4 separate regions of the Homo sapiens genome follow, and regions 2, 3 and 4 are each linked to region 1. Evidence: promoter capture Hi-C in 16 types of primary human blood cells and fetal thymus (Javierre and others, 2016). All regions are on one chromosome and are shown on one strand. Each heading gives the region's core, a stretch centred on a gene start or on the middle of the fragment in contact. The rest is flanking DNA. Distances are from core to core; before and after follow the strand shown.

Region 1 (6,935 bases), core at 1,834-4,333:
TACGGAAGCCCTGGCATGCATGTCCCTGGCTTTGCCATATACAGGCATGCTGGGACTGCAGCTAAGGGCATCTGTGGGGCCACTGGAAGCCACAGTGCTGATCCCTGGCCCACCCTCCCCTGGGAGACCAGACTGACCCTGGGTCATTGGTTGGCTAAAGCCTGGGGCCTCAAGTTTGGTATGTGGGGCTCGCTCACTGCCAACGGGTTCTCCTTGAGGATCCCTTTCTTCCTTTCATCTGCTCAGGCCTAACACCCCATACACTGTGTGCGGATAGGGAGGTGACCCCTTTAGCGTCTCAGCAGCACACTCCTGCCTGGACCACCCTCTCCCAGGAAGGTCAGACCCCAGCGGAACCTTTGCCCTGCTTGGGTGGAAGCATGAACAACTAGTACAGCTCAGCAAGGGACTCCCAGTATTGCTGGCCCTTGGGTGTCCCTGGCATTGGGTAGATGACCCCTCATGCCAGGGACTGGCCTCAAGGCTGTTCCTCTCTACTCCAGAGCCTCTGGGCAGTGGGTTGTGGATTTCCTAAGAGCTGACCATTGCTGCGTCAGAGGCTTGCAGCACTGGGTTACTCAACAAGGCCCTGCAGCCTGGTTTGCTATGAAGGAGAAGATGGGGTCTCTCGTCCCTAGCCCCAGTGCACTTAAATGTGCTAGTCCCAGAGGTTGGGAGTCCTGAGTCAGCCTGTGAGGACAGGGCAAGGACAGTAACTGCCTCGGGTCCTGGGAATGTCTGTGGGGAAGAAGAGGCTCTGCTACCCTTGAGATCTGCTGGGTCCTGGTCCCTAAGTGTACCTCTCCACCCATCTCACCCTGAGTCAGGCCCAGGAAAGGGGTATCTTTGGTGTTTCCTGGGCTTCTGAACACCACATTCATCACTACCATTCTCCTCAGTGCTGGCCCAACCCCAAGAGCTGGAGAACAGGCTGGCCCCGGCCACTCTATCTCACTTTCCCTGGCATAAAGGCTTTGACCTTGGGCAACATACCCAGGGCAACCCAGCACCTCGGCAGGCTGGTGATCAATCTTCTCAACTTACAGATCCTGCTGACCATGCCTGCAACCAGGCCTCCCATCTGCTATCTCCCTCAGTGCACACTGTCCTAGGGAGTTGGGTGAATATCTATTATAGTGTGTCCATGTCACAGTTCAGAATCCTGAGGTCCCAGAGCAATTCAAATGCTTCTGGCTCCTTTCAGTGGAAAGCTGCAGCCAGCCTAAATCATCTCCCTGTGCTGGGCCCAGGAAGAGATGACCCTTTAGTATACCATGTTGTTTGAGTAGCCAAGACCTCTGGGAGTAAAGGCCCCTGGCCATATAAGCAATATAGGGGAAGGCGTCCTGAGCTCCTCTTGGGGCCTCTCTGCTACTGGGTGCTCTGCAAGCTGGGTCCCTGTGCCCTGGATCTCTAGAAATGTTTCTCAAATTGGGGCTGCTGAACAGAGGGCAGCCCAGCCAAGTGAGGGCAGGAAGTGGGCAAGAAAGCAGGAAGGGTCTCACAGGGCCACCAGGGAGGGCAGTGCAGGGCAGGTGGCCCATGACAGGTGGGATGCTGGCTTGCCTGCCTGCCACCATCCTCTGTTCCTTCTGGAAGCCATGCCCTGCCATGAGCCATGGCCTTGGTGCTGAGACTGTCCATTCCACCTCCCATTCTCCTCCTCCCTCTGACTGTCACCTTGAGAAGCATCCACCCTGGGGCTTAGGGCAGCTGTGTCTGTGACATGTGGAGCCCTCCTCCTCCTCAGAGGCCCAGGCCAGCCTCCAAGTGCTGAGATAGCCAGCTGCCTGTGGGCACCCAGGTTGCTAAGGTATCTTCCAGGTTCAGCCTCCTCCTCTCCCTCTTATCCTATCACCCTCTCCTTCTATTCCATCCTGCCCACTGGGTCCCTGTGCCAAGCCCTCCACCTCCCTCCTGCCTCCCTCCGAGTCCCTGCATGACTCATACTTTCCCTGGGCCCTCCCTATAAAGTTTGGTTCCACAGGCTCTTTGAAGAGATCCAGCCTCTTCAGCTCTGGGCAGGCAAGAACTAGGCAACCAGGCCATGGGTACCAGGGCCTCTGCCCCCAGCCCGGGAGCCCCTGTGTTGGGGCCAGGATACTATCTGAACATGCTGACAGTCTGGACTTTGGAAGGGGAAAATGGTGCTTCCCTGTGTGGGCTTCTGTGTTTGAGCTGAGGAAACTGAGGCCAGAGAGATGCCGTAATTTATCCAGGGACCCAGAAGGGGCTCATAGCTGAGCTGAAGAGTGTCCCACATCCTCCCCAGTACTCCACACTGGTCCCTGAGTGGCAGCCTTGCTAGGATGGCAGGAATCAGCTGACCACTTATTCCTGGGCCATCAGACCCTTAGAATAGGGACCAGGTGGGCAGTGCTGCCTCTGTGTCTGAAAGTGGACCCACCGTGACCAGTGCCCAGTGCCCACCAAGGCTCAGCCAGGGGTTTCACCAGGGCATGGGGCACTGGCTGAGCATACCACGCCCTCTGTGTCCTCTGCAACACTAGAGCCCTGAGACTAGAGGGGCAGAAAGATGCCAGCTGTCAAAAGCCAGTGATATCCACCAGAACACACTGACCGCCCCCACCCTGTGCCTCTCCTTCTTTGCAGAAGCTACCTGTGCCCTGGGTTCTCTGGGCAGGGAAGGGCTGGACAGGCAGCCCTCAGGGGACAGCCCTGCCTGCCACTTGGGCAGCTGTCAGAGCATGCAGATGTGCCCGATGCCTAGCTGGGGCACTTGGCACAGTTGCCACTGCACCCTGCCTAGGGGTCCCAGCAGCCTCTGGGCGGTGGGTGGAGTGGGGTGCACGGTCACACAGGCTGAGAGGGCCCCCAGGACGCCCCCATCCCACAGTTCCCACTCCAGTCTGCTGTCTTCTCCCAGCTTTTTCCCAGCGCCCCGCCTCCCCCGACCTTACCTAGGGACGCAGCCAGGAAGAGAGCGAAGAGCAGGGATCCCCAGCGCCAGCTGCCGGCCTCCAGGGCCGTGGGGACGCCCATGTCGCCGTCGGACGCGCAGAGGAACTTCTGGTGCCGGGGAGCGGGCGGGACGCGGCCGGCGCGGGGAAGCCTCCCGCGACTGAGTGCGAGCGAGTGAGCGCTGCGGGCGGCCCCAGCGCCGTGCTCCAGGCACCCGCCCCCTTCGCGCAGCGCCCCCGGGGGGCCGTGTGGGGGAACTGCCTCTCCGAGGGCCGCGTGGGAGGGGCTTCCCGGAGGCCGGCCCCGTGGGTGGGGAGCCAGCGTGCGTCCCAGCGAGTCAGCTCCACTTGATCGGCAGTTTAAAGCCCGTTCTACCGTCCCCCAGTCCTTTTGGAGAGAAATTATTATTGCTGCGCAGCCTAAGAAGTAGATCTACCTCTAACAGCGTGATAGACGTTACCATGGCTTGCATCTGCCCTCAGCCACCAGCCTTTGAGTGATCTGGGGACAGAGACTTGTACCCTACATCCTCCAGCCAGACCAGGGCTTGGTATGTGGTAGGCACTCCCAGCTGTGGAATGAGTGAGTAAATGAGTGAATGAATGAAATCTGACATTGTGAAGAGCTAGGCAAGCTGGAGCCAGTTTAACTGTAGATTCAGAGCCTGAGGCACCCTGAGTGCATGCGCGCGCGCACACACACACACACACACACACACACACACACACACAGAACAGGTGCAGGACTACACGCCAAGATCAGCACATCCCTACCCCGGGACACACACAGATATGCAGGCAACACCTGTTGGCGTGCCCCACAGCACATCCTGCAAGCTCCCCTCCGGCAGAGGCCTCAGCTGTCCGCCTGGCTGTGCACCCGCCCTCCCTCCCTGGTGCCTGGATATCTGCAGGACACTCTGATGCACCCTAACTTCTAGTGCCTCTGCTCTTGCACCCACACCCAGCACTGCTGGCACCACTGGAATGTCTCTCCCCTCCTAATTCTTCTCATCCCTCAGGGCTCAGCTCAAGTCCTCCCACTTCACGAAATGTCCTGACCCTTCCTTTTTCCCGGCAAATCCTTACTGTCCACACCCCCTTCAGCTACCACCTCCAGCCTGAGATAACCAGCAGTTGGTTCTTCTTCCGGCTGTTCTGCCCTCCAGAGCGAAACTACAAACCTCTCTCTGATGTTTCTGAGACCCTAGCACAAAGCTGGGCGTGGAGAAGGTTTTACTGCACTTTTATCTGAATGGACAAACCAATGAGTGAGTGAGTGATTGTGTGATGGAGGAGCAGAGGTGATCGTGGCCAGGACCAGGGATCACAGGAGTGGAAGAGCACAGCCATTTTACTCAGTTTACCCCAGTCTAGCTGAAGCTTCCAGGGGTTTTTCTGGCACTTTAGGGATCTTGGGTTAATAGGTGACTCCTAGGCTGAGAGGCAGAGGACACTCAGAGTCTGACTGGGTCAGGAACCAGGGTATCAGGACTCAATGGGAGCCAGGAGTCCTGGGGGCCTTGTGGGTGGCCTGATCCAAGTCACGGGCTCTCTGGAGGCCCTTAGCCCTTGCTCTAAGGGCAGGGAAGGCTACAACAGAGGAAGGCTGAGGCATCATGTTATTACTAAGTGAACTTGTGCAGGCCCAGTCCCCCTGGAGCCAGTGAACTCCCCAGGATGGGAGCCCCAGAGGCTGGCAGGACATAACCCAGGTCCTTGGGCATGCTCCTGGCCTTGTGACCCCACCTTGGAAGGCAGCCCAGGGCCCTTCCTGCTGGCATAGCATGAGCTCCCTTCCACCAGGGGAGGTACAAAGCCAACTGAGATCAGGTGGACACCGGGCCCTTCTCACCCTGACATCCTCTGGCAAGTGAGGGGGGTCCCTTAAGGGCAAGATCCTAGAGCACCACCCCATCTCAACCCTTCCTGGACTGGCTTTGCTCAGGACACCCTTGAAACCAGACTCCCTCTTCCCCAGGGCCTAGCAGCCGGGGAGGGCCTGGAATTAGAGAAAGGGGAGCAATTGCCCTGCCAACCCCTTCCCCAGGGGGATAGAGCCTCTGAGCTGGGCCCAGTTCCCTCCCCCCTTTTCACTTCCTTTCTCCCTACCACACTGCCCACCACTGAGCCTCCTGGGGTTGCATCAGGGTGAGACACAGGCATTGCCCAAGGACCATGGTCCAGAAACCTCAAGCACTGTTTCCTCAACACCAGGGCAGGACAGGAAGGGCTCAGCTGAGAGGGCCTTTGGAGCACTGACTTTCTCCTCCCTCCGAGACCAGAGGAAGTCAAACCCACCTTCCCTCCCCAAGCCCAGACCTGGTCTCAGAGCAGGAGGGGCTCCAAGGCCCAACTCTGTTCAAACTCTCCACTCCCAGCCCCTGCAGCCTGCACACTCCATCATGTGTTTGTGCTTGTTTTCATTAAAAATAGTGGTGAAGGCCCCAAATATTCGAATAAAGATGACTGTCAAGGAAAGCCACCATGTCCATCTTGTGGCTCTGCAGGGCCTGGAGGCAGCTGTGAGTACTCTCTACTGGTGAGGGGCCCAGCCTTGAGCCTTCCTGAGTCCCCTTACTTGCCGGCAAGAATACAAGAGCACCACATTGCAGGAAAGGGGCTGAATTCCAGCCTCCCTGTTGGGGAGGGGATGCTGACATTTCCCACATTCCCAAACTCACCTCCCAAACTCCCTGAGCTAGAAACAACTTTAGAAATCAAGCCAGGTCCTTTATTAAACAGACAGAAAAGGTCCAGAGAGGGGATGTGACCTGCCCAAGGCCACGCAGCTCCTTTTCAAGGCTGCCAACCCTATCTGCTTTGGAAACCGTTTCAGCAAACACCCAATGCCCTCCACCCCCAAGATCCAGAGCTGCATATCAGAGGAATCATTGCCTCCTCAGGGGCAGTGACAGCCTTCTTGGGTCCAGATCCCCTGCCCATCTGTCCATTCTTCCAGTGGTAGCTCCAGAGCCAGCCAGTCCCAAGGAAAAAACCATATGCAAATTGCCTACATTGAGTTGTCTGTACCACCTGCTTTCTGTTCTCTGGCCTGGCAATGGCCTAGTCACGTTCTCTCTACCCAGACACCTTTGCAGTGATTAACACCTTATTATTTTATATTAGTCACTCATTATGATTTGTATTAGTTAGGGTCCTGGCAGGAAACAGATGGCACACTCAGAAAGGGTTCAACTGAAGAGAGTTTAATACAGGGACTGTTTAGGAAGGCTGGTAAAGCACCCAGAGACTAGCACCAACCACAGGAAGCCACTACCACTCACATGTCCAAAGGGAAAGAAGAGGAAGTGATGTTCTGGAGCCCAGTGAAAGCTGGTGCTATGAAAGGGGGACCCCTGTCCCCAAGCAGGAGAAACACAGCCATGGGCAGAACCGCAGTGAGGAATGGAGGGAGTGTGGAAGAAACACCCCCGCCTCTTTCTCCCCACTGCTTTCATCTTCAGCCAGGGCCTCCCATTGGCCACACCCAGCAGGAAGCTGGATAGCAAGGGAGCCAGGGTAAGGCAGTTAGTCCACAGGGGACATCTTCCCAGGTGGAGAAAGGCAGGAAGCAGGAGCAAGAACCATTTCTAGTTGATTCTTGAGTGCTGATTGCCGAGTTCTGATTAGCTGAATATTACTTGTGGTCCAATTGACTCAAGCATTGGCAGAGATGGCCGATCACAGGAGAGTATGTTGTAGAAGCTGTTCTTGGAATGAAGTTATGTTCTGTGAGTCTTATTTTTCACAGGTCAACAAGTTCTGCCCACGAAATTGCCACAAACCCAATGTCCTCCTTCTGGAAATGCTGAAAATATGTATTTCTTTCATTTACATGAACAATAGATGAAGGTTAAATATGGCATTGGGCCGAGTGCCTCACATTCTTGCCTCTTGTAGTCTGGCAGGACATATAGGCTCAATAAGACACAGGCCCTCGTAAAGCTCTGAGCTGGGGTGACTACCAGGGTTCATCCCATATGCCAGTCTTAATCACTAGACCACTGTGCT
Region 2 (6,935 bases), core at 2,741-5,240, 480 kb before region 1:
AAAGGGAGGCCTGAAGGCAGGAAGTGAGTATAAAATAGAGAGGTCTGACTAGAAAAGCTAGGCTTCAAGCCTGCCTATGCCCTCACTAGGGCAGAGGAACCTTGGGCCAGCCATCTTCTAAGCTTCAGTGTCTCTGTTGTGTGAGAGAGAATATTCCAACGTAGTTCAGCAGACCTACAAAGCACTGTCCTGGAACTAGCAGCAGAGGGACAGGGGCGCCTGTTTTAGTTTGCAAAGCCAGCAATTAACAGCTTCCCAGCATCATATACTAAGCTAGGAGTAGAGCTGGCACTTGGACCTCCAGACACCATAGCAATGTCAGAGACCCCTGTCTTCCTAGACAAGCCAGCACTGGTCAGTGGCCTGGCCTCTGCTTGCATCCAGTCCCCAGACCCTGTCTCCCACCCCTGGCTGGGGACTACCTGGAGCTCAGGAGATATCTTTCTCTCCCAGCCCCAAGCTGGGGCCAACTTCCCAAACACTTGTTCTCCTAAGCTCCTGGACTCCCTGCTGACTTCCCTCTCCCCCTAGGGGTCAGCTTGCTGGTGCCCAATGGAGCCATTCCCCAGGGCAAGTTCTACGAGATGTATCTACTCATCAACAAGGCAGAAAGTACCCTGTGAGTAGAGCCCCAGCCGCTGCTCCTTTTTCTTCCTCCCATCCCTTGCTGCCTGCCCACACGTGGCTCCCCTTCTAAGCCTGATGCCAAGACCAAACAGTCCTCCAAGGAAAGTATTAATCTTACTGTGTCCATATTGAAAACTTGCAGAACCAACACCGTAAATTGTAAAACTCAAAGGCGGTTGACAAGCTGGCTACAAGTGTGACAAAGGGCTGAATATCCTTACTATGTAAAGAGATTTTGTAGATCAATAAGAAAAAGTAAACATCTCACTGTGAAAATGGGCAAAGGATATGAACACGTGATTCACACACACTGTCTCACACAAACACACTGGCCAGTAGGTTATGAGAAAATGTTTAGTCTAATTTGCAGAGAAAACTAATGAAAACCACCACAAGGTATACTGGGATTTTTAAATTATTATTATTAAGGAATTTGCAAGGACCTTTTCCCAAATGATAATACCCTCTTGCTGGCAAGGGGGTGGGAACATGGCCTTCTGTGGCACGTGGCCGGGAGTATAGATTGGAACCAGCTCCCTGGAGGGCACTTTAGCGTGACCTATTGAAAACCTTCCAAGATTACACAACCTTGGAAAATATAAGCCAGGAATTTTGAGCTATGATAATGTTGCAGTGGAATAGCAAAAATCTGGAAACAACCTCAAGGTTCATGCCATTTTCTTTGCCTCCTTTGCCCCCATGACCTCTGGGAATGCAGAGCCCTGAGTGGCAAAGAGCTGCCCTCCACCTCCCGGGCCCTGGGCAGACTTGGGAGCCCAGCAGGAGCCTGCACCTTTGCCGAGCTCTTCACTGCCTCTCTCCTACCCTGTGTCCTCCTCCAGCCCGCTTTCAGAAGGGACCCAGACAGTATTGAGCCCCTCGGTGACCTGTGGACCCACAGGCCTCCTGCTGTGCCGCCCCGTCATCCTCACCATGCCCCACTGTGCCGAAGTCAGTGCCCGTGACTGGATCTTTCAGCTCAAGACCCAGGCCCACCAGGGCCACTGGGAGGTGAGGAGCCACGGTGAAGGCTGGCCCAGCTCTCCCAACCTGCCCAGGGAGGCAAAAGAAAGCCCTTTTCCTCTGGCCCAGCCTGAATAACTGTGACCACTACCCCACCCTTGCTGTCCCCTACAGGAGGTGGTGACCCTGGATGAGGAGACCCTGAACACACCCTGCTACTGCCAGCTGGAGCCCAGGGCCTGTCACATCCTGCTGGACCAGCTGGGCACCTACGTGTTCACGGGCGAGTCCTATTCCCGCTCAGCAGTCAAGCGGCTCCAGCTGGCCGTCTTCGCCCCCGCCCTCTGCACCTCCCTGGAGTACAGCCTCCGGGTCTACTGCCTGGAGGACACGCCTGTAGCACTGAAGGTAGGGCCAGCTGCAGGTGCCCACACAGCCCTGGCCGGCCAGCTGCATGATCCCTGCCAGAATCCCCCACCCCAGGCTCATGGGTCCTCCCAGGAACCCCTCCCCGCCACCAGCATTATTAGGTCCCGCTTGCGACCCTCACACACTGAAACAGCCTTGGGCACAGGGCCTGCCTCACCAAGATCCAGGTTAGAGGTGGGAGGCAGACCAGGGATCCCTGAAGGCTCTGATGGGGTCTGCCCCAGGACTGAGGGAGCATCAGACTGGGAGGGGCTTGGGCTGGTAGGGAGGGACTCTGAGAAGGCTGACATGTAGGAGTTTCAGCAGAAAGGAGTGAAGGGCATTCCAGACCGACAGAAATGACTGCGTTTCATAAGCGTTTCAGCATGACCAACTAAAAGGCATAGGGAATGTGTGAATGTGAGGGCGGGCGAGATGGGCAGGGCTCAGCTTCCCAGAAGCCTCAGGGCCCCTTGCCAAGGAATTTGGAATCCATCCGGCAGGAAGGGGAATGGACCTGGTAGACACCTGTTCACAGGTGCTCTTTAGAAAGCCCCTGTGGCTATACTTGGGTGGGTAGATGAGAGGTGGAGAGGCCTGTTGGGAAGCTGGGGTTGGACCCTGGGCCACAGGGAGTGACAGCAGCCAGGAGAGGCGGGGCTGGATGCTGCGTGTGCTCAGTCAAATGGACAGAACCGGTGACTGATGGGATGGGCAGTGGGAGAGGGAAGTTAAGGCTGACAGCCAGGCTCCTAGCATATGCAGAAGGATGGAGAGCGGTGCCCCAAGTGAAGGAAGGGTCATGCAGATGAGGGGTGGTTGGGACAGGAGGGAGGGAAGGGGAGGGAAGGGTCTTTTAGTACCTAGAGCCTGATGATGGCAGGTATGGAGCCCCGTGTTAGCACCACTGTCCCCTGCCAGCCTCAGAGCCCTTGTGCATTCCCCCAAGTTCTCCTCCCATTCTCAGGAGCTCAGGCTCATCCTGATGTAACCCTGGAAGCATACAGACACTTGGCCGTGTGTGAGCCCCTTCCCCTCCCTCCTCCCATCTGCCCTCCTCAGCGCCTCATGGTCCTTTCCCATGGCTCCATGCACTTTCTGTTCCTGCTCCCTGGCCCCGTCCAGCTCCTTCATCTCCCAGGCTCATGGGACTTGTCCCAAAGCCCACACTGCAGACAACATAGGTGAAAGGCCCATGGGAGAAGGAGTGTCCCCTGCTGGGAGGACCCTGGCTTGAGATGCCAGTGGCCCTGTGATGGGTGCAAGGTGCCTGGGAAGTGCTCCTGCAGCTGGATCTCTTGGTCCTGGGGCGTTGGCTAATGGCCAGCTTTGGCCAGAGAGTGGTATAGAAATCAAGAGAGAAGTTACCAGGTTTGGGCCTGATGGCATTCTTTGTTTATTCAACCCTCCATCCATCCATCTGTCCATCTGTTCATCCATCCATCTGTCTTTCTGTTCATCTGACCATATACCCATTCAGTCAGCAGCCCATCTGTTTACCCAGTCATTGCTCGTCTATCCATTCATTTATCTTTTCTTCCATCTTTCTATTCATATACCCATCCTTGTATATCCATCTGTATATTCATCTGTCTGTCTTTCTAGCCATCAATCCGTTTATCCATCCATCTGTCCATTTATTAGTCCCTCTAGCCATACGGTCATCTATAGATTCATTCATCTAGTCATCTTTCCCACTGTCTGTCTATCCATCCGTCATCTATTCATCTTCTCACACCATAAGCCCTCTGTGAGCTCTTGCAAATGCCCAGCCATGCACTCAGATGGGCCCCTGCCCCCTGCCCCGCACAGTGCCACAGAAGAGGCCCATTGGCCAGGTGTGATGGGTTCCCCTTCCCCATGCCCCTGGCCCACAGGAGGTGCTGGAGCTGGAGCGGACTCTGGGCGGATACTTGGTGGAGGAGCCGAAACCGCTAATGTTCAAGGACAGTTACCACAACCTGCGCCTCTCCCTCCATGACCTCCCCCATGCCCATTGGAGGAGCAAGCTGCTGGCCAAATACCAGGTGAGGGCTGGGCTGATGGATGGGGAGGGGCACCACTTAAGGGCTGCCCGGGAAGCCCAGCTCCCTCCCGGGCCCTGCCTCCTAGCTCTGTCCTGTGGCCTTACCCCTCCCTGGATCTCTCACTGTCTCTGTCTCCTCCCACCCCAGTCTCTAGGCTTTCAGCCATCCCCAGGCACGTCCCCAAATTCAGGGCAATGGGCAGCCACATGCACACTTCTGCCCTGTCACACCCTCACACGCACAGACGACTATGCCCTTCATCCTCACAGAGGCTCCTCACCCTTCAGGGCATGCCCTCCTGGCAGACTGCCCATCTCATCTCTGACAGCCACAGCCCGCTGCCCACCCAGCAGCGCCTGAGACCACAAGGCCCCCTAGCCCCTGACACACACACACCTGTGCCTTTCCCTCCCCCACCTACCCACCCTCAGCTCCCTTCTGGAACTGAGGGCCTGACACCAACTCAGCTGGCTAGCTTAGGGCACTTGACCCCTCCCTATCTGGGTGGAGAGGCCTGAACTGCCCCCCAAAGCTCCCAACCCTCCCTGAGCCTCCATTTCTATGAGGACAGGGCAGGCTGGCCTTGCCTGCCTGGTCCTGACCCCCTCCTCCTGCAGGAGATCCCCTTCTATCACATTTGGAGTGGCAGCCAGAAGGCCCTCCACTGCACTTTCACCCTGGAGAGGCACAGCTTGGCCTCCACAGAGCTCACCTGCAAGATCTGCGTGCGGCAAGTGGAAGGGGAGGGCCAGATATTCCAGCTGCATACCACTCTGGCAGAGGTGAGGGAAGTCGGGGCCACATATTCCAGCTGCACACCACACTGGCGGAGGTGAGGGAAGGGTGGGGCAGATATTCCAGCTGCACACCACGCTGGCGGAGGTGAGGGAAGGGTGGGGCAGATATTCCAGCTGCACACCACGCTGGCGGAGGTGAGGGAAGGGTGGGGCAGATATTCCAGCTGCACACCACGCTGGCGGAGGTGAGGGAAGGGCGGCCAGATATTCCGGCTGCACACCACTCTGGTGGAGGTGAGGGAAGGGCGGCCAGATATTCCGGCTGCACAGCACTGTGGCATAGGTGAGGGAAGGGCCGCCAGATATTCCAGCTGCACACCACGCTGGTGGAGGTGAGGGCCAGAGGATACCTCTAGGGTTTGGGGCTGGGCTGCAGCACACAGAACCCTGTAGTTCCCTCTCACCTCCCAAGTCTGAGCGGGTATCTGGTCATGTTTTTCTAACAAGTGTCATTTATTGATTGAGTGCCATTCACATGCTTGGCATATACCAAAAAACTTACATGATCTCACAAGCACCGGGAGATGCATGACAGATATCATCCCCACCTGGGAGGTGAGAAAGTAGGTTTTAGGAAGGGCAAGGATTTGCACACAGTACACCAGTGGCAAGACTGGATTCGAACCCAGGTTGATGCAAGGACCAGGCCTGTGGTTCTCAACCGTTAAAAATCCGGATTGAGATTTAAAAACCCAGGCCACCCAGGGTGACAACACTAGATCCTCCTCTTGGGGCATTGTAAAGAGCACTGGATACAGGTCTGGACCCAGGTCTGCCACTAACTTGGCATGTGGCCATGAGCAAGCCACTCCCCTTTTCTAGACTTCACTTTCCACCTGTACAAGAGGGTGCATGTGGATTAGACTGTGGCTGGGCCTCCTTGGGGCTTCCTAACCATGAGGCTGCATCTGCATTTGCCTGGGGCCTTAGGTAAGCATGGTGCACCCCCTGAGGCCTGAAGGGTGGCCATGCAGGCCTTGCCCTTGGGAACCGACCCTTCAAGGGAGAAGCCCCTGCCTGAACAGTGGGAGTCTGTCCAGAGGAGGTGGGAGTGACTCAAGGCTCAATGAGCTCACAGTCCAAGGGGAGGGAGGCTGGAGGGCAGATGCCCAGCACTGTGCCCCTCTCACTCTTGGCCCCCACCCTTGCAGACACCTGCTGGCTCCCTGGACACTCTCTGCTCTGCCCCTGGCAGCACTGTCACCACCCAGCTGGGACCTTATGCCTTCAAGATCCCACTGTCCATCCGCCAGAAGATATGCAACAGCCTAGATGCCCCCAACTCACGGGGCAATGACTGGCGGATGTTAGCACAGAAGCTCTCTATGGACCGGTGAGTATCCCAAACCACAGCCCATCCCCATCTGCCTTCGTCCTCAAGGTCTCACAGGGGCAGGCAGGGCAGGCAGCCTGACAGCCACGACCATCTCCCAGACCAGCTGCCCTTTTGCCACCATTTGTGGCAAATCAGCAACTCAGGATTGGATATGCAAAGTTCAAGAATACTGCTCCCTTGAGGAGCATCATGCTCAGAGCACTGGTCCTTGAGCCAGGCAGACTCTCAGACCCTGCTCTTTTCCCATTGTGTGGGGATAATGCTCCACCTGCCCATCTCACCGAACAGCAGGAGACTCAAAGCCAGGGCATCAGCTTGGTGCCATCATTGTCAGCACCTGGTATCTAGGACAGAGAATGTGCTGCGAGATGCTTGCTGACTGACCAAGATACACTTTGGTGTCAAAACTCCTTTGGAGAACCTCAAATGCTGGATAAGTGCTGGATAAATATAAGGCCAATGATAATAAATATTATACTTATTGAAAGATGTGTAATAAACCTGCATTGAGTCTCAAAAAATAAATAAATAAAATATGCTTTAGATAAGACATTTTACTAGAAATGAATAGGACTTACAAAGATGGCTAAGGCTTTATTCCTCCTATCAGGGGAGTTCATGGGAGCAGGAGGGAACACGGGTGGGAGGAATGACCACATGCTAGACGTGGTCATTCTCTCTTGGGGCCAGTGTCTTTCAATGATAATAATGATGATGATGAACAAGATGGTTACATGCTAGAGACAACGCTAGACCCTTACTTTATATGATCTTGGA
Region 3 (6,935 bases), core at 1,757-4,256, 440 kb before region 1:
CTCCTGGAAAAGGAGTGATAGGGCCAACTGGGCTCAACATGGGCATCCTACACCTGGGGTGGCACAAAGCAAGAGCAAGTGAAACTGGGAGAGCAGAAGAGAGGCAGTCCTGAGGCCCTGACCCAGCTGGGTAACCTCTCTGTGCTGTGTCAGGGAGTGGAGGCTCCCTGTTCCCAGAGGTTTAAAAGTCACAGGATATCTATTTGGTAAAGGCTCCACAGCTAGGTGAAAGGTGGATTGGTCCTGTCTCATAGGACCACAAGGTAGCTGGGAGGAACCCAGATTTGGCAACAGAGGGACTCTAGTCTAGCAGTGCCCTTACCCACTGTGTGGGTTGGAGGCATGCTCTGTCGCCCTTGGGCCTTTTGCCCACAGACCCACCTGGCAGCATTTACATAACGCTGCAGACACAGGTAGGGTGGAAAGTCCTGACAGTTATGGTGTGCCTTATAGATGGTGGCTCCTGCATGAGGACTTCACTAAATCCCAACATTCGCTGCCTTTACTAAGCTCTTACCATGTGCCAGGCACTGCTAAGGGCACAGATTCATTCATTAACTCAGCAATATTTATTAAGCAATCTACTGTGTACTAGAAGCTTTTTTTTTCATGATCTTTTGTTTGTTTTTTTTTTACAGCCCAAAGACATAGGTTTATTATACCCATTATACAGAGAAGGAAACCAAGGTTGAAAAGTTTAAGTCATTTGCTCCCAGGTACAAAGTAAGTGATGACTGGGACTCAGACCTGGGCCCTGTCAACCCAGGTATCCGTGATCTTAACCCCAGTGCTTTATATCAGCATTTTCGAAATTTTTTGGAGCATGATGGCTGTCTCACCTGGCAAGATATTTGTGTCTATAATGCAAACAACAGTTTCATGAAGCTGCGTCTGTACTTAAAAAAAGAAAACTCCACTCTGACTGCAGTTTCAAGGAGGAGCAAGTGATGCAACAGTGGCAGTGCTGGTTGTAAGCCATGCAGGATGAGGATGGAAAGTTTGTCCTTGAGTTTGACCTTGTGCAGGTTCATGGTGACCTTGGGGAGCAGCATCGTGGAGGATGGGGGGAGAGACAGAGGAGACAGCAAACTCAAGGAATTTTGCTTTAAATGGGAGCAGGACAATGAGGCACAAGCTGCAGGGAACTGTGATTCAGAAGGGGGAGAATTTTCTGTTCTTTTATTTTTAATACGAGAGACATAGCAGGCAGTTTGTGTGTGGAAGCAAATGATCCAGCAGAGAAGGAAAAACGCATGATGAAGAAGAGGGAGCATAGCTCAGCGAGGTCCATGAGCAGGCCAGAGGGCTCAGGTGCACAGAGAAGGGTTCCAGAAAAAGATGCAGACAGCTCACTCACCTTTAGTAAGAAAGAAGGCAACAAAGGATTAAATAGAATAAAATAAAATTCTGGTCGTGACCCATCAAATGAATTTCATATTCTTTAATGAGCTGTGCAACCTGTAGTTTGAAAAACCCTGCTCTGCCTGTTTCCCCTAACTTTGTAGCCATCTATGAGGATGCGTCATGTCCTCATTCCACAGAGGAGGAAAGTAGAGACAGTAAGTAACTCGTTGGTGCCACATAGCTAATAAGAAGGGGGGTGGCAGCCCAGGGTACCTGAATCAGTATCAGATTTCCTGGGACACTTGCCAAATACCCGGATTCCTAGACCCTTCCCTGATGGCTTTATCTCCCTGGGTGAGGCCTGGGCACTGTTGCCAGGTGGTCCTGTTGCCAGCTGGCCAGGGGAGCAGGTATCTAGGAGTCTCTCCTTTGTGCCAGGTGGTGTTCCTGCAGAACCGTTTTAGTGCTACTCAGATCTCTCTCCAAATGGAAACAATGTTTAGACTCCCTTTGCAATCCTCTTTTATTCTTTTTTTCTTTTTTCTTCTCTTTTCTTTTTCTTTTTTTTCTTTTTTTTTTTTTTGAGACACATTCTTATTGTATCGCCGAGGTTGGAGTGCAGTAGTGCGATCTTGGCTCCTGGGTTCACTCTGCCTCCCGGGTTCAAGTGATTCTGCTGCCTCAGCCTCCTGAGTAGCTGGGATTACAGGCGCCCGCCACCACACCTGGCTAATTTTTGTATTTTTGGTAGAGATGGGGTTTCACCATGTTGGCCAGGTTGGTCTTGAACTCCTGACCTCAAGTGATCCGCCCACCTTGGCCTCTCAAAGTGCTGGGATTACAGGCGTGAACCACTGCACCCTACCAGCAATCCAATGTTTAAGAGCAGAATTCCCAAGAGTGGAGAAGGGCACAACACCCCTCCTCCCCGCATAGAAAGAAGTGTATTAAAGTGGGATTTTGCCTGAGCTTTGTCATCCTAGGAAAAGAGATGGGGAGTCTGAGGTCAGGCAGCATGGGCTTCAGGCTTTCTGCCACTGGGTGTGCATGAGTGGCTGCCAGTTGCTTTGGCTGGCGTGGATGACTGCTCTACACCATTTTTAAAAATTAGAACCAAAAGTGAGTCATTTTTTAAAATCCCCTTGTCCACCCTCTGATTCTAACTGCGGGCCCAGCCAGCGTGCCATTCCCAATAAATAATACACCTGTGATGGCTTTTTCTTCTGTTTTTAGCTCTTGCTGCATCCTGCAGAGGGGAAAAAAGCCTAGTTTGAAACGCTGTCAGTCATGCCTTTGGTGGCCTCAGCTTCTCTAGTTCTCTTCTTATTTTCTCCCTAAGTGCTCACGACCCTTCTTCCCCACCCGCGCTGCGCTCCCTTGCCCTCCAGGCTATTGACTGCTCCCTCTCTGCCTTCGATTTTATTTCTTCCTGCATATATCCTTAAAATCCAGAGGCGATTTCCTGGACAAATTAGAAGATGGCCTGGACCTTAAGTGCTCCAGTGTCTCTTTAACATGATTGATATCACAAGTGTCCAGAGAGCGGAACCTAAATTAGAGTCTCCACCAAGGAGCCCAGCGCTTTTGACACAGGCAGGCAGCCTGGGAAGGGTCTGCAGCACTGGGTGCCTGGGACCTCCTTGCTGGCCTCTTGCCGGTCCTCACTGCCTGGGAGGACTGTGTAACAGCCTTTGCCTGTTTAATGGGTTAATGAGTACTCTAGTGGAGGCAGAGGACAGCTGCTGTTTCTCCCTATGTGCCTGTGTTTCTGTGCACGTCTGTGCCTGTCTGCATGCAGGCACCTGAGGCCTAGAGCAGCCTGTGGTTTCTGCCCACATGCACCTCCAAAGAGAAACAGCCTTCCCAAGGCGGGAGCAGTCTGTTGTTGAGGAAGTGCCTGCCAGGGGTTGGCTAAGGACTCCCTCTTCCTGATGGTCCCTAAGGTTTTCTACTACAGAGAGAGGCTGGAGCACCCCCAGACCACCTCCTCATTACCACCAGGCCACAGGGCATGGCCCTTGTCCCTGGTCATCAGCCTTGTGACACTGATGCACGGGACCCTCTGGGGGATGCAGAAGCCTGCCCGGTCAGGCAAGAGTAGGTGGGGTGTTTTCTTGAAAGGCCTTCTTCCTCTTTTCCCTATCACATGGCAGAAGTCAGGCTGCAGAAGAGGAAAGACTGGCTGGCCCGAGCATCAGCAGTGGCTGAGCCTCTGATCAGCTCATCCTCAGGGAGCTTGGGGTCACTCGTGCATGGATCCGTGAGGTTCCCTGTTTCTCTGACCCCTTGGTTTCTGAGCCCTTACTCTGCCTATTCTGGTTACAGCCTGAGAGTACATGAGGGGAATAAAGGGGATAAGAATCAGAGCAGTCAGCTTGCCCCTTGCTAGGGGACCTTGCGAAGGCTTGGCCGAGGCAGGGTATAAAGGTAGGTAGAAATGAGGTTTCCATCTTCCTTGCTCACCCTGCCTGGCAGAAAGACTCTGGATTCAGGAGAGCTGGCTTCTGTTTCTGACTGTGTTTCAAACTTGCTGGGTGACTTGAGACCATGTCCTCCTTTGAGGAATGAAGATATGAGACCGTAGATTGGGACCCAGAAACTTTTCCCGCAAAGGGCCAGATGGTTCGTATTTTAGGCTTTGTGGGCCCCACAGTCTCTGTTTGCTACTCAGCCCTGCCCTTGCAGAGTGAAAGCTGCCCTTGACAACATGTAAACAAATGGGCTGACCGAAGGCCGACCGCGTTCCAGTGTTCACACAAAGGAAGAGGGCAGATTTGGCCCGGGGGTAACCCGCTGCTAACCTCTGGACTGGGAACACTCACTTACAGCTCTTTCCCAGTTCTGTGATCTATTATAGTGGTACCTACCCTGCTGAATTTGTCTTCATATCACTGACCACTGCCTGGCCTATTATCTATTTGTTTATGCATTTGCTAGCCATCTCTTTGACTAGATGGGCAGTTCCATAAAGGCAGGAACTTGAGCTGAATCTCCCATGTCTACAACATCTAGCGAGCTCAGTAAATATTTGCAGAAGGATGAATCCATCTCTGAGTATTTGTGGAGAGGAGACAGGGACAGGAGGAAGAACCGCCATCGCTGGATTGTGCACCGTGATCCCGCAGTGCACCTCCACCACAGCCTGCACACCCGGACCTGCCTGGGCCCCAGCCTCCCCCCATCCCCATTCATACTCCAGCTCACCCCTGTGGAGGCTTGAGCACATCAAGCTCATTCCCGACTCAGGGCCAACCGTACGCTGTTCCCTCTGTCCAGGCTCTAGGTTAGCCAATTATTTGTATTTTAGTTTTATTGCATTTATCCTAATTTGCAGTCTTTTTTCCCCCCACTTGCTGTTGACTCTTTTTTTTTCTTTTTTTTTTTTTTTGTGCCTCCCTCCCTAGAACACTGGCATTCCCAGCCCCTAGAACACATTGAGCACATACAAGCTGCTTGGCCATCATTTGTTGAATGAGTGAATGAGCTCTAGAAGGTCAACTGCCTTTCACCTTTAGTGAGTGAATAGATGAATGAATAAATTAACCACTGCTACCTGCTTCTTCCCATCTGCTCCCTCCACCCATTTCTGCCAGGTGATTCCTTCTACACCCAGCACTGCCCCCCATACTGTTTGGCGTTGAGAAGCCCCCAGAGCTCCCCAGTACCTTCCAAAACAAAACCCCTCTTTAGGCAGCTGCCTGAGACCACCCGCGAATCGGCCCTCAGCCACCCTTGCCTCCACGCGCCCCATCATTTCTCCAAGTGGAGCCCCCAAGGTTTCCGGCAAAGGAGCCAAGCGAGGGGACAATGCAGCAAGGTGCAGGAGGGGCCTGGAAGCGAGGCTGCAAGGAGGAGGGGCGTGGCAGTCACAGGGAGGCTGATTTATAAGGCGCAGAGGCTGAGGGTGGCCAGGCCCAGGGAGGAACTTGAGCAAAGGCGTGGAGGGGATGCCTGGGGGAGAGGCTAGAACCCGAGGGGAGACTGGGTGGACACGTGAGCCATAGTCAGGTGATGTGGAGACGGGGCCAGTAGATGTGATTGACTGGGGTGAGGGTGAAGGAGAAACCAAGGAAGCTTTGAAGAGGGGCTGAGAAAAGGAGGATGACCATGGGGCCTTCAGAGGGGCTGCTTGGGAGTCTTCTCTTGAAGGCCTTTGATTTGAGGAGCTTGGGGTTTGGGCTCAGCAGGACCCCCAAGCGGTTGTTCTGGATGAAGAGACGGATGTATGGGTAGAGGTCATGAAGCCAGGGGAGGTGAGCTTCTCCTACCACCACCCCCACCCTTACAAAAGGAGGGCAGGAAACGAAGGATGGAGCTCAGGGGGCACCTTGGGATGGTGGAGGGAGCCAGAGGTGGACAGAGATGATGAGGAAGTGTGGAGGTGGGGGCGGGTGTGTCCTTGTGAATCTGGAGGAGAGGAGTGCTGGAAGGACATTGCATTAGTTTCTTGTGGCTGCCTTCACCAAGTACCACAAACTGGGTAGCTGAAAAGCAAGGCTCTAGGGAATAACATTTCCTTGCTGCTGCTTTGGCATTTTTTGGCTCATGGCAGCATCACTGCAGTCTGTGGCTCTGTCTTCACGCAGCCTCTGCCTGTGTGTCTGTGTGTCCTTCCCTCTTTTCCCGTATACTGTGGATTGAGGGGTCATTCCTCCTCCAGTAGGATCTCCTCTTAACTAAGCATGTCTGCAAAGACCCTATGTCCAGATAAGTCACATCCTGAGGTTCTGGGTAGACATGAATTTTGGGGGCATGAATTCAGCCCCCTCTAGACGGGGTAGCATGCAGTGTCTGGATTGTGAGGAACAAGACCAGGCCTTGGTTACAGGTGGGCTGCGAGGAGGACGCTGAGGACCCTTAGAGGAAATGTTTCCCCAGGGCAGCCGGGAGGGACACGGCTTTGGCAGTGGCAACATGGACTACATTTTCAAGGAGTGTGGAGTGAAGGGGAGGAGGGGCCTGGTTCCTGGAGGCAGCAAAGTTAAAGTAGTTTTTTTTTCTTTACCCAAAGGGAGACCTAAGAGAGTCTCTTGGCCAGCAGAGAAAGGAACAAGCAGCAGTGAGGGAAAGAGAAAATGCAGGCAAGAAAGGTGGGATTCATGGTGTGAGTCTCCAGGAAGTCAGCTTAGGCTGGAGGAAGAGCCCTTTTTGCGGAGTGGAAAGGAGGTGTGCTCCAGAAAGCCTTGCACACACTGCAAGGAGGAAGGCGGGGAAGCTCATTCCAGAAGACAGGAACTTTGCTCATCGTCCAGCAGGGATTCCTGAGGAGGTGTGAGAAAGGATTGAAGGCTGGGGAGAGCCCCGGGGTGCTCAGAGAGCAAGATTTACAGTGAGCCCAGGCCTGGAGCTGTCATGAGAGGCCAAAGGAGGGACGGTTGCATGCAAGGGTCAGATGGGGACCCTCTTCCTTAGGGTGGCCACAGTGGCTTCGTCTGTCTGGCCAGCATTTTCCAGAGCTTACCTGTCTGATTCTGACCCCAGATTTGTCCTTCCCTTGGGCCTCTGGCCTCCCCTTCAGCCTGGCTGCATCTAGCCTCCTGCCTGGCCCCTGGAACAGGCATTGCCCCCCTTCCCTGCCCAGCCAGCCCTCC
Region 4 (6,935 bases), core at 2,269-4,768, 420 kb before region 1:
CGTTTCTGGAATGCATTTGGTATTGACCTCCTCCTCTCTGATTCCTCCCCAACTTTCCTGCCCTGGGGGTACCTGAGTAAGCAGTCCCCCAGCTCTCTGCAAAACAACCTTCCTGTTCAAGGAACTTATTACCTTGTAGCGACAGGCACACAGGAGGGCTCCCATGATGCTGCACCATTCCTGCTGGACTTTTTCCTGGCCGTGTCTGTGAGGAGGCAGTTAGAGGCAGAGGCCATTCCCGAGGCTGGCGGATGCTTCCAGCTGGACTTCCTGCCATGCTGAGGCAGCAGGGATCAAGAAGCAGACAGCCGCTGGGAGGTTCAGACCAGCATGAAACCTCCCCACCCCCGGGTGCTACTGATCTCCCTTGCTTGTCAATTTGTACATCCAGCAAATATTTACCCAGTGCCTGCCAGGCCCTGTGCCTGTGCTGGGGGAGAACAAGGCAGGGCTCTGCCTTTGCAGCGCGCCTCATCTTTCCAGCCTGGCCTTTGCCTCCTTCTTGCCCCAAGGAACTGGTTCAAACTTCTTGGCATTTGTTCCCAACCTCTCTCTCCACTTGAATTTTTTCAGATTTAGAATCATTAGCTGTTAGGGACCTTAATATTATCGGGTCTAGCTGCTTCTTTTTAGAGATGAAGGGACTGAGGCCCAGAGAGGTTGAATATTTGTCAGGGGTTACACGGAGAGCCGATGACAGAGCTGGGCAGGGCTCCGGTCTCCTGACTCAGGCTCCATGCCCTGCTGGCCCTTATCTTGGGAGTGGGTGGGACAGCTCCAGCTGCTAGGAGAGGGTGGGGACACTGTGTGACAGAGCTGAGTGTGTAGGACCACCTCGAGCATCAGGGGTAAGTCTTGACTGCTGGCCTCCAGGGCCCCTGCTGTACTCTTACGATAGATGCTCCGGGCCGCCAAGGGTCCAGGTGTCTACCTGGCTGCCCAACAGCTCCTGTCCAGGCCAAAGCCCCTGCAGACCTTGAGAAGATGTGTGTCAGTGTGAGGTCTTCATGGGCATCTTAATGCAAGGTTCCCCACAAGCAGGCCCTGAAACAAGGATTCAAATGCGAGTAGTTTATCTGGGAGGTGAAGGTGGGAGAGTATGGAATGGGGACAGGAAAGGGAAGGCAGTCAGCAGAGGATGCCTTATCAAGTCAGCTCCTTCAGGAGGGACAAGAACACAGTCCTGCTGGGGATCTTGGAGAGCCAGTGTGGAGCATGGCTGAGCAGGAGGGAGCTGGGGTATTTATGTACCAACTTCCCTAGTCATTGGTTGAAGGCTGCTCTTAGGAGGTGTTCCTTACCTGTCACTCCCAGGTAAGTAACACCACTCCTGGAGTTGTAAAAGGGAGGGCACATGGGCAGGACACCAGCAGCATTGCTGTAGCTTCTGACCATATCATTCCCAGCTTGAAACCCTGATGTACCTCTTTGCGTTAGTGGGTACTTTGAGTACCCACAATAAAAGGATGTCCTCTTTAAGTGAAAATTAAAGGCAGGTCCACCTTTAGGCATCTTTGGATCTAGGGGATCTCCTCTGCACCACCCCTGGGCTCCGTGTGTCTCTGCATGGCTTTTCCTCCATGTCTAGCCTCGCCCTACGCAACTGGCTAGATGGCAGCCAGCAGCCCCAGACACAGTCTCGGCAGTGAGCTTCTCTCCACGGCTCCCATGTAGCAGTCCCAGGGAAGACTTAAAGATCCTATGTGGGTCACATGCTAATTCCTAACTCAACCCCAGGGTCTAGGAGCAGGCAACACTGACTGCCCCAGGCTGCGTCACATGCCTGTTGTTTGTGGCTGTGTGGGTGTGGGTGTGGGCAACCTGGCTGACCACCTCCCCAGGATGACTAGGCGAAGGAATGTTCTCCCAGGGAACATTGTGCTGGCAGACAAAGGCCCCACACCCCGCCCTCCTCCAGGACATGAGTCCACGCCTCTCCCCAGCATCACCTCTGTGCTCCTCTGCTCGCATCTTGACTACAGCCAGAGTCCATTTGCAGCTCCCTGAACATGCCTCACTCTCTCTCCCAAGACACATGCACTTATATCCTCCCATTCGTCGTTACCATCCAGCATAGACATTGCCTCCAAATGGCCTTCCACGATGCCCAGGGTGGGTTTTGTGCCCCTCAGATGTGCTGTGTGATGCCCTGGGGCCTCCTGATGGAGCACCTACCACAGTGAGATGACATATCTGTTGCTGGTCTGTCCCGTGTCCTGGGCATCCAGCATAGTACTGGACACACAGTAGTTGCTCAATGCACATTTGCGGAATGACCACACCATTGAGTACACATGTTAACAGACTGAGTGATGGGCTGGGGCTCAGCACACCTGGGTTCTCATCCCAGCTCCCTACAGACTCACTCCACAACCTTGAACTGTCCCTTCATTTCTTGGGCTTCCTCATACCCCTTAGAAAGCAGTGACAGCACCTGCTCTCCCTTTAGCTGAGGACCAGAGGGAAACTCAAATTAGCCTGGGGCCACAAAAGCACTTTGAAAAAATTCCTTTCTTGCTTTTCTTGCTCATCATTTCACACCTACGTGTGTGTGTGTGTGTGTGTGTGTGTGTGTGTGTGTATTTTTCCTACCTTTCAAGTTTTTCTTTTTTTAATTAAAAAAAAGTATGTAATCTGGCTTTTCTCCCAGCCCCCTCCCACTGGTTAGCAGGAAAATTAACTACACATCCAATCCGGTTTAAAGCTTAGTCTAATCTGATGATTTAAGCAGCCCCTTGAGATGATGTTCTTGCTTCCTAGAATAAAAATGTGCAGCTTCTCAGATAGAATCCTTCCCTGCTTTTCTCCCCAGGCCAGTATGGGGGCTGGGAAGAGTACATGGCTCATATGCAGGCATGGTGCTGGGGAGTGTGGGGGTTCCCTTGGCCCCAGGCAGCACTAACTTGGCATCACCTGCTCCCCATGATGACTGAGGCCATCACAGGAGGATGCCCCTGCCCTGGCCACCACTTCTGTGCCATCCATATTTCCTCACTCCAGGGGAGGCAGTAGAGCATCATTCTGAGAACTGACCAGAGCCAGGCCTCCTGGGTTCATTGCTGAGTGACTTTGAGCTAGTTCCTCAGCCTCTCTGATGTCAGCTTCCTTATCTGTATACATGGGATAGGTACGAATACCTGTCTTACAGAACCGGTGTAACAATCAAACACACTGGCATACAGAAAATGCCTAGAAGAGTGCTAGAAAAGTATGCATTAAACACTGTTTGAGTGTTTGCTATGGCGACGATGATGATGAAGATGACGACGATGATTTTCTTTCCTTCTTCCCTTTGCCCCCAAACCTCCTGCTAAGTTTTGGGGAAAGGAAGCTCAGTGGGTGGCTGCTCTGTTTAAACACTAGACAAAGCCAGCAGGAGCTCAGCCCTGTGGCAGGAAGAGCAGGGGTTTGCCTTGAACATCCTGGTGTCCTCGTGTCCTTGAACCTCACAGCAAGGTGAAAAGCAGCAGAACCCACTGAGCGCTGGCCCTGAGCCAGGCACTGCCGCTTGCACCCCACACTGCTCACCTCTTCAGCCTCACCCCCCTGTGAGTTGAATCAACTCTCCCCATTGTACAAGTTCAAAAGCTGAAACCAGAGCAACTGAGTCCCTTACCCAAGGCCACACAGCTAGGGAGCCGGGAAGGCAGGATTCGAGTGCAGGCCTCTTGACTGCAGAGTGAACAGTCCTAACTGCTAAGCTCGCCTGCTTCCCTTAAGGTGGCTCACCAGCCCCAGCCCACACAGGAGCCCCGAAGGGGTGTCTAACTGCTTCTGGCATCCTCGCCCCAGGGTTGCAGTCCACATCCGTGTCCTGGCCTCACTGACGGTCATCCTGGCCATCTTCATGGTGATAACTGCACTGGTGAAGGTGGACACTTCCTCCTGGACCCGTGGCTTTTTTGCGGTCACCATTGTCTGCATGGTGATCCTCAGCGGTGCCTCCACTGTCTTCAGCAGCAGCATCTACGGCATGACCGGCTCCTTTCCTATGAGGAACTCCCAGGCACTGATATCAGGTGAGAGCCAGGGTCCGGGCAGCTGACCAGGTTCATCCACCCAGGAGTCATGGGAGGGAGCCAGAGATGAGCATGTGGTGGCCTTTTCTGAAAAGGAAATGGCATGGGTGCTGATTGTGTTTCAGTCATCTAGTGTTGTAGAACAACAACGGTCATTTCTACTACTCACAAATTTGCAGCTTGGACAGGAGTTTGCAGGTGTAGCTCTTCTCTTCTCCCCATGGCATCAGCCAGCATAGCTCGACGGGGAGCGGAGGATCCAGTTCCAGGTGGCACGCCCTCCTGGCTGGCGTGTTGATAGTGGCTGCTGGCTGGAAGCTTAGCCAGGGCTGGGCTGGGGCCAGGGACTTCCGTTCCTCTCTATGTGGACCTCAAATGGCAACTTTGACTTCCTCATGGCATGGTGTCTGGGTTGCAAAAGCCGGCATTTCAGGAGATCCAGGCAGAAGCTTTATTTCTGATTTAGCAAAAGAAGCCACATAGGGTCAGTTCTGCCATAGCCATAAGCTCACCCAGACTCAAGACAGATGGACCCACCTCTGGGAGAGTATGAAAGTCTCCCACCGTGACTGTGAGAAGGTAGGCAGGAGGGGAGACAGAGTCGCAGCTATTTTTGGATAACATGGTCTGCCTACAAAAGGCAATTCCTGAAACCAGCCTTCCTCCCTTTCCTTCCCTCCTTCTCCTATTCCTCTCCTATTTTTCCTTTTCCTTATCTTTCTTCCCCTTCTTGTCTCCTTTCCTTCCTTCTGTCTTTTCTTCCTTTCTGATTTTATAGAGGACCTGCTATGTCCTGGGGATGCAAAGATGAACAAGCACCAGTCCCCTCGGAGCTGATGGCTCAGTGAATAAACTCTCACCCCCAGCACCCCCAAGCTTTGGTATCCCGTGGGTATGCCTGTGCACGACGTGGGCCGACCCCTCTAGCTGATGTTTGATGCTGATGTTGATGAGCCTGTTCCGGAGGCCTTGGCACTTTTGTTCTCTAAGCTGGAGACACACACATCTCTCACCCAGATGACCCAGCCAGGTAAAAAGGAGCGGGTCAGGAACCATTGGTGCTTTGCCAGGAGGCCACAGTCCCTGGGAGCAAGACTGGAGGTTCTGCTGCTGTGTCTGCCCTTCCACATGCCCCTGTTATGCAGAGGAGAGCTCTAAACATTTGCCCACTGACAGCAATTTCACAAGGAACCTGTGCTGTGCCCCTTAGTTAATAATGCCAGGAAGCATGTGGCCAGGATGACAATACTTTGACAAGGGTATGTCCCTTCCCCACTCGAGCCAGTGCCAGACATCACTGGTGGATCTCTATCTTTCATCCTGAGCTTCTAAATCCTTCTCAGCGCAGCACTTGAGGCAGTTACTCTCAGCAGATCAGAGTCTAGATGTGAGCTTCAATCTGTTTGCCATTTCTGAGATCAGATTAGGCTTCTGGCTGTATCCTGGGAAACACTTGGGCCTAAGATAAAATAAAAATGGACTTGTTGCTAAGTTTCCTGGGTGCAGGCAACATGCATCAGCGATGCTTTCAAACGGGCATTTCTGGACTGAAGGCAGTGGCCACTGGACATGGGATTTAATTCCTTCTGTCACCGCCATCTCAGAAGGAGGCTCTTATCCCCTTAGTTCCTTCCATCCTTGCTGGCAGGCTCTCCAGGAGCCAGTGACCAAACTCACCATTTACATTGGCAAGCGGTCCTCGGGTTAATCTGTCCACCTGTGATCTTCTAGGGATGGGGAGTCTCCTATGGATTTTTCAGAAAGTCCGTTCAGAAAAGTGGGGAAGTTTAGTACTTCTACGCCAGTATTAATGACCCTGAGTCTAAACCGTGGTCACCACTGTATTGGGCCCTCGTGGGTGCCCAACACCCTGGAAAATCAAGGTGTCCCAGTCTTCCAGAGGCCACAAGACCACCTCGCCAGCCCCACTTGCTTTTTTCCAGCACAGCCCGTCTGTGAATTCCGCACGCGTTGGCATCTGAGGAACAATTCATTTGTTTTGCGCTGGTGTTTTTTTAAACCCCTCATTTGCATGTATTTCCATAACTGATGAGATAAAAGTGGAGAGTCATGAAGGATGAGCTCCCGGAGGCCTGGTTTGTTGTTGATGATAATATTGTAAATTCTCTACAAGTTGGAAAGAGAGAGAGGAAAATCAGTAGGCAGTGATGTTAAGATCTCCTCCTTGGGGCAGCTGGGGAGTGTCTTACTGAGTTTAACCCCAGTTCTTGCAAAATGTCTAGGCGGGGATTACAGCTTCTCAGAAGTGGGCATCCTCTTGGCAAAGGGTTTACCCGTTGTTGCTGCTTTGATGTGGGAAGCACAGAAATAGCCAAGCACCTAACTGGGAATCAGAAAGGATTTGTTTGGTATTTGGCACTTCTCCGCACCAGGCAGGCTTCTGAGTGCTTCACGTGTAATAATCCTTTTAATCTTCATCACAGCCCTACGAGGTGGGTATTATTAACACCCCCATTGTATAGATGAGGATACAGAGGCACAGTGAGGTTAAGGGACTTGCTGAAGGTCACACAACTAGAAGAAGTAGAGCCAGGTTTGGACTCGGATGTTTTGATTCTGGAGTCTGAGTTCCTAATTACAGTGCTAATTTTTATACCTTTGCCCTCCCTCAAGTACTACCCAGGCTAATAGAACTTATGGTGGAGAGGCTGGGGAAAGGATCCTCCGTCAGACCAAGGGCTATTCTCTGTAGAGCCATAGAGGCCACAGGCAGAGCATGGGGAGCCGTGATGGTGCGCACGGTGGACGGGGCCTGACTGTCCCCCTTCCCCTCTGCTTCGTGCAATAGTGGGCAGGAAAGTGGTGCTGTGTAAGAGCTGCCTGATGGAGACAGAGCAGGCCATGCCCACACGGACCCAGCCTTCTTCCCACCTCTTCAGGAATGGACATTCTGAT

Evidence for each region. Contacts are between HindIII fragments. The CHiCAGO score rates a contact against its expected background, and 5 or more counts as called.
Region 2: a fragment that was not itself captured here is called in contact with the fragment with the promoter of VSIR in region 1 in 4 of 17 cell types (M2 macrophages, M0 macrophages, M1 macrophages and 1 more); the score reaches 6.3 in M2 macrophages.
Region 3: a fragment that was not itself captured here is called in contact with the fragment with the promoter of VSIR in region 1 in 4 of 17 cell types (total CD8 T cells, naive CD8 T cells, monocytes and 1 more); the score reaches 6.6 in total CD8 T cells.
Region 4: a contact is called between a fragment that was not itself captured here and the fragment with the promoter of VSIR in region 1, in 5 of 17 cell types (megakaryocytes, naive B cells, monocytes and 2 more). The highest score is 5.9, in megakaryocytes.

Annotation. Positions count from the first base shown.
Region 1 is chr10:71,770,437-71,777,371 of GRCh38, forward strand. It overlaps VSIR (V-set immunoregulatory receptor), which reads right to left and starts at 3,084. Exons shown (of 7, transcript NM_022153.2): 1 at 2,922-3,084. The coding sequence starts at 3,003. All of the region lies in intron 38 of CDH23 (cadherin related 23), which reads left to right. RefSeq lists silencers at 2,884-2,963, 2,984-3,313. The HindIII fragment of the contact is 7,388 bases long and covers 1-4,302 here.
Region 2 is chr10:71,291,936-71,298,870 of GRCh38, forward strand. It overlaps UNC5B (unc-5 netrin receptor B), which reads left to right. Exons shown (of 17, transcript NM_170744.5): 11 at 532-619; 12 at 1,470-1,638; 13 at 1,765-1,998; 14 at 3,876-4,025; 15 at 4,643-4,807; 16 at 5,974-6,155. Among named protein-coding and RNA genes, the nearest start is that of SLC29A3, 24 kb to the right of the region's middle. RefSeq lists an enhancer at 3,525-4,332. The HindIII fragment of the contact is 7,740 bases long and covers 121-6,935 here.
Region 3 is chr10:71,330,240-71,337,174 of GRCh38, forward strand. The region is part of intron 2 of SLC29A3 (solute carrier family 29 member 3); the gene reads left to right. Among named protein-coding and RNA genes, the nearest start is that of SLC29A3, 14 kb to the left of the region's middle. The HindIII fragment of the contact is 4,820 bases long and covers 597-5,416 here.
Region 4 is chr10:71,347,770-71,354,704 of GRCh38, forward strand. It overlaps SLC29A3 (solute carrier family 29 member 3), which reads left to right. Exons shown (of 6, transcript NM_018344.6): 4 at 3,793-4,019. It overlaps LOC105378353 (a long non-coding RNA gene), which reads right to left and starts at 298. Exons shown (of 3, transcript XR_946051.3): 1 at 133-298. RefSeq lists enhancers at 3,184-3,684, 3,685-4,185. The HindIII fragment of the contact is 1,633 bases long and covers 2,703-4,335 here.